Regions from separate parts of the Homo sapiens genome. Here region 1 is linked to region 2. The links are contacts of gene promoters, found by promoter capture Hi-C in human tissues and cell types (Jung and others, 2019). All regions are on one chromosome and are shown on one strand. Each heading gives the region's core, a stretch centred on a gene start or on the middle of the fragment in contact. The rest is flanking DNA. Distances are from core to core; before and after follow the strand shown. Region 1 has its middle 14 kb from the start of FICD. Region 2 holds the start of CMKLR1 (chemerin chemokine-like receptor 1).

What was found. The method cuts DNA at HindIII sites, captures the fragments that hold promoters and counts their contacts. A contact is called where the count stands out against the background at its distance.
Region 1: a fragment that was not itself captured here is called in contact with the fragment with the promoter of CMKLR1 in region 2 in 1 of the 25 tissues and cell types used here (H1 embryonic stem cells).

What each region holds. Positions count from the first base shown.
Region 1 is chr12:108,499,980-108,502,679 of GRCh38, reverse strand. No RefSeq gene overlaps it. Among named protein-coding and RNA genes, the nearest start is that of FICD, 14 kb to the left of the region's middle. The HindIII fragment of the contact is 6,085 bases long and covers 1-2,700 here.
Region 2 is chr12:108,337,972-108,340,671 of GRCh38, reverse strand. CMKLR1 (chemerin chemokine-like receptor 1) reads left to right here and starts at 1,361. Exons shown (of 4, transcript NM_001142343.2): 1 at 1,361-1,645. RefSeq lists a silencer at 1,078-1,197 and an enhancer at 1,305-1,928. The HindIII fragment of the contact is 8,294 bases long and covers 1-2,700 here.

The DNA of each region.
Region 1 (2,700 bases), core at 23-2,522, 160 kb before region 2:
TTTGTATTTTTTTTTTTATAGGGATGATGTTTTGCCATGTTGCCCAGGCTGGTCTCATACTCCTGAACTCAAGCAATCCACCTGCTTTGGCCTCCCAATATGCTGGGATTACAGGTGTGAACCATTGCGCCTGGTCAGTGCTCCATTTTAATATGTTCTTGTGTGTAGCTGAGAGGTCAGCCTAATATCATTTGACCATTGACTGGTGTTGAGGCTTAGTTGAAAAAGTGGGTTAGGATAGAGAAACAGAAAACCTTACATTATGAATATTTTATCTTATCTTTTAACTTACACATACTAGTATTCTGTATACTAATTTGTACTGTGAATACTAATATTAATATTGGGTTAATGGTTGATTAACAAATGAGTTAATTGGGTGAAGTCTCACATTGTCTTCCCTGCATGAATCAGGTGATTTCCTTTTTTGGTTCATTTTGAATTTAATGAGAATTTAAAGACACTGGCTAAGCAGCATACAGAACCCTTCCAGATTTTTATAATTTTCCTCCCCCTCCATCTTTATCTTACAACTAATTCTTCATCAATTTCTATTTAGAAGCTTGCTTTTCTCAGGGCTATTCGAAACACTTAACTTAGTTTTCACAGAAACAACTTTTCTTTTTCCCTTCTTTTTTTTAGACAGGGTCTCACTCTGTTGCTCAGGCTGGAGTGCAGTGGTGCAATCACAGCTCACTGTAGCCTTGACCTCTAGAGCTCCAGCCATCCTCCTGATAACCTGGGACCACAGGCATGAACCACCATGCTGGCTAATTTTTGCATTTTTTGTAGAGATAGTGTTTCACCATGTTGCCCAGGCTGGTCTCAAACTCCTGAGCTCAAGCGATCCTCCCACCTTGGCCTCTCACAGTGCTGGGATTACAGGCATGAGCCACTGTGCCTGGCCTTTCCCTCCTATTTAATCCTACTACATACTACTTAACTAGTTACAAATGAAACTGGCATAAATAGGTTTGGCAGCAAACAACTGATTTTGCTACACATACAGCTCAACACGTGGCAGCTGGTGGCTTACTGGTCTCTGATGTTGGGTGTGCAGTGACTCAAGCTAAATATGAGAAAACATCAGACAAATTCAAGTTGAATGAAATTCTAGAAAATAAAGGCCAGTACTTTTCAAAAGTTATCGAGATCATAAAAGACAAAACTATTACATATTGGACGACACTGAGGAAATATGACAATGAAGTATTTGGCTGATTCTGAATTGTATTCTTTTACTAGAGAGAACTTTATTAAAACAATTGGTGAAACTTAAATGGGGTCTGGGGAGAACATGGTAGTAGATCAGTGTTCGTTGCTTGATTTTGATGGTTGTATTATGGTCCTGTAGGAGAGTTACATGCAATGTGGAATCCTGGATTGGATCCTGGACCAGCAAATGGTCAAAAAAATTTAGTTTTTTTTATTAAGTGTTCATTAATGGAAAAAACTGATGAAATTTGAATGTCCACAGATTCACCAATGTTCATTTCTTGGTTTAGATAGTTGTTGTGTTGTTATGCAAGATATCAACATTAGGGAACGTTGGGTAAAGGACACAGAAAAACTCCAGGTATTCAATTTTTGAGTCTAAATTTTTCAAAAGAAAAAGTTCTTGCTCTTTTTTTTTGAGGCAGAGTCCCACTCTGTTGCCCAGGCTGGATCACCCAGTGGTGCGATCACAGCTCACTGCAATCTCTGCCTCCCAGGTTCCAGTGATTCTCATGCCTCAGCCTCCTGAGTAGCTAGGACTATAGGTGTGTACCACCACGCCTGGCTAAATTTAATTAATTTAAATGAAGGCCAGGGGTTCGAGCTCCCAGGTGAGGCCAATGAAGTTGCTGGTCCACAGACCACGCTTTGGGAAGCCCCCACATCTTGGTTGATTTTAATTATTTATTGATTGATTTTCTGGGCATGTGAAATATTTCCATAACTCTAGGAGTCAGAGGTATACAAAAAGGTGTTCCAAATGAGTGTCTCTCCCTCTACCTCTCTTCTACCCCAAGGAATCTGTGGCCTGGGAACTCTTCAAGAAATGCTGACATGAAGTTTGAGAAGTGCTGGTTCAGAGAGGCTTGAAAAAGCACCTGGGCTTTATTTGGAAGCGGAGCAGCAGCTGATGCCTCCCTAAATGTTCTGCAGATCCCAGAGCAAAGACCTCTGAGTCTACCGCCCCACCCTGCCCAGCCACGGCTCACTCCTGCGGTGGGCTCTGCCAGAGGAGGAAGAGTGGGACCCTCAAGCTCTCTCTGGGTCCTCAGCTCCAGGTCAGATAACCATTTTTGGGAGAGGGTTGAGATGCTGCAAGGGGTGGCTTTGGAGGGAGCTCTGACACTTGGGAATTCTGATCATTTCTGGCACATCTGGGTCTAGGATTAAATAAAATATGGGTTACTTCCCAGGTGAGAGGTTCAGAAAATGGGAGGCATCTCTTTGGCCTGCAGCATGAGGATAGTTCAGTTGTCTTCCCTGTGACTGGAAGAAAAGGTGGCACTCTCTTTCCCAGTGTTGTCCTTGGGGCTGTGTCCCCCTAAAATACAAGTAATAGCCCACTTGGCAGCCCAGGCTCCCCATCTTGGTTATTTGGCCTGATAACCCCTGAAAACCCCCTGCTCGTCCCTCCTCGTCCCCTCCAGTTTTGGCTTCTCACCTGGGTGCCCAGAAAACTTTGCCAAACCTTAACCAACTTCATGC
Region 2 (2,700 bases), core at 112-2,611:
GATCAGACGATGAGGACATAGTCCTCCACCTGCCCAAGACTTTGAGGCCCAAAACACAGGTTTCTCTCCTTCTCTCCCTCCCTCCCCATCTCCCTCTCCCTTCACCTTCCCCTCCTCCCCATTACCTTCCTCCCTGCCCTCCCTTTTCTTCCTTTCTTTCTTCTCCTCCCTTCCCCTCTCTTCCCCTCCCCTGCCCTTCCCTTTTCTTTTTCTTTCTAAAAATATTATTTTAGGCAGTCGTAGGCAGTCTTGGCTTTGGAATCAGACAGACTCAGATCCAGCCATGGCTCGGTCAGCATGAGCTTGGCGCCCTGGGCAAAACGACTTCTGCTCTGTGGCCCTAGCATCCTCATGTGTAGAATGGGCAAGTGATGCCCCCCCGACGTGGGTGGTGGTTCACACGGCTTACTCCATGGAAGCACTTGGCACAGGGGCCCACATGGGCACTTCTGTTATTTCTTCAGTCTGGAGGCCAAGGGTGGGCCTCCGAGCCAGACAACATAGTTGGAATCCCAGCTCTGTCAGCTGCTGGCGGTGTGGTCTTGAGCAAGTGACTTAATCTCTCTGTACCCCAGTTTCCTTATTGGTAAGACTGGAGTAGTAATAATTCCTGTTATCTAGGGTTGCCGTGAAGAGTAAGTACGCATCGCCTAGCACGCTGCCTGGCTGTCGGTTGTTTTGATTATTCCACTAATGATGGTGACCACACAGCCGATGAACCAGGCACTTAGCGCCTGGTTAGGGCAGGGAACAGAATACAGTTCTTTCCCTACAGAGTTCCTGGTGCAAGGAGTTCTCGGTGCAAGGAGAGAGACATCTTAACAGGCAAGGACAGCACTGCATCAGTGAGGTGATGGGGTGACCCTGAGGGGCACAGCAGCCCCCGAGGGTTGGGGAAGGCTTCCCTGGGAGGTGACCTTCAACCTGAGACCTGAAGAGGCAGTAGGAGACCATCGGGCCACGAATTAGGGCAGGAATAGCATCCAGGTGGGAGGAACAGCGTTGCAAAGGCCCAGGGTGAGAGGCAGCCAATCTCTCGGTCAGTGTGGAGCTTGAGCCCCTCACCGGGAGCAGAGGCGCTTGCACTTCCCCCAGCAGCCGGGTGCTCAGATGTGCTCCCTGTTTGCGCTCAGTGGGCACGGCTCCCCGGCTGCAAGAGGCTGCCAGAGGGGCGGGTCGTCCCCAGCGGGCCCCCGCCGCCACCCACAAGCCCAGTCCCCGGCTGGTAGGGGCACCCTCCCCTCGCAGCCCCCTCTCCACGCAGCTAGCCGCCCCCGCCCTAGGTCAGCCCAGTTTCCTGCCCCTCCCTCCTGCTCTCCTCCCTCCAGCTGTTTCTCTGGCTGAGTTCTGTCCCAGTCCCATTCAGGGAAGCAGCCCCGGCGGCCAGCAGGGAGCTCAGGACAGAGCAGGCTCCCTGGGAAGCCTCCGGGTGATAGGGGTGTTCCAGCTGCGGCGCTCTGGGGGTTCAGAGGGGGATCTTGAATGAACAAATGAATGAACTGCTTTCTGGGCAAACAGCCACAGCCAGAGGAGCCTGTGATTGGCAGAAAGAAGCCAGGGTGTGCAAGTCTCCCCAACAGCCTCGAGTGGCCTGCAGTCACAGGGAACCCTCAGGAAGACCTTCCGGGCAGAGACCAGAGGGAAGGTATCATCACACACTTGCCTTGGGTGTCTTCTGAGGGGGGCCAGGGAAGGGGAATGAATACTAACAGAGAGAAAAGTTTGTTTCTTTTTATAATTTCATATTTGTTAAAAGGAAGAGTTTTGTTATTATTTTCAGATGTCAAAAGTAATGCATGTTCATTGTTTAAAGAAATAGCAAGGATACACAACTAAATATATGAATGTGGATTTCCACATCTAGTTTGGTAACCTGCTTAACCACAGATTGTGAACTTTTTTCCATATCACCTATATTCTTCCAATATACATTTTTCATGGCTGCATAGAAAGGCTATCTTAAGATTATTTGACTTTTCCATAATAGATTTGCTTCTTTTTTTTTATTAGAACAGTGCTGCAATGAATATTTAGTATGACATCTTTGTGTGTGTGTCTTATGAATACCTTTTAGAAATTGCTAGATTTAAGGTTTGCCTATTTTTAAGACTTCTGAGCTTTTGGTCACACTGCACCCTGGAAGGCCGTGGCAGCTTGACCTCTCTACGATGTTATACCAGGGCACAGTATTCTCACATACTAAACCCACCTTGTTGCTACCCATCCCTTAAACTTTCCCTGATGTGAAGTCGAGAATAATATCTAGATGCTTCAATAGGCATTTCATTTCTTTGTTAGTGTTGATTCTCTTTTATAAACTTATTTTTCACATTTCTAGTCTGACTCTCCTGTTCAAGTCTGTTCCCATTTTTTTCTCCTCTGGGGGCATGTTTATCTTTTTCCAATTGATATCTAAGGGTTCTTTGTATATAAAGGACACAAAACCTTTGCCGGCACTCTCTGTTGAAAATATTCCACTCCCTCCTCTGTCTTCAGAATAGCCCATTTTAAATGGGCAAGCCAGCTTTGGCAAAATTATAAGCATTACAACATCAGGGAACTACTACTTGATATAAGCCCAATCACTCAGACCTGTGCGGTTCAGAGATGCCAGATCACTGGTCTGAGGTCACACGCCTGAACGTCCAGGTTCTGAGTCTTTCTTTTTCTATTAGGGAAAGCCCTCAACTTCCCTTTTGC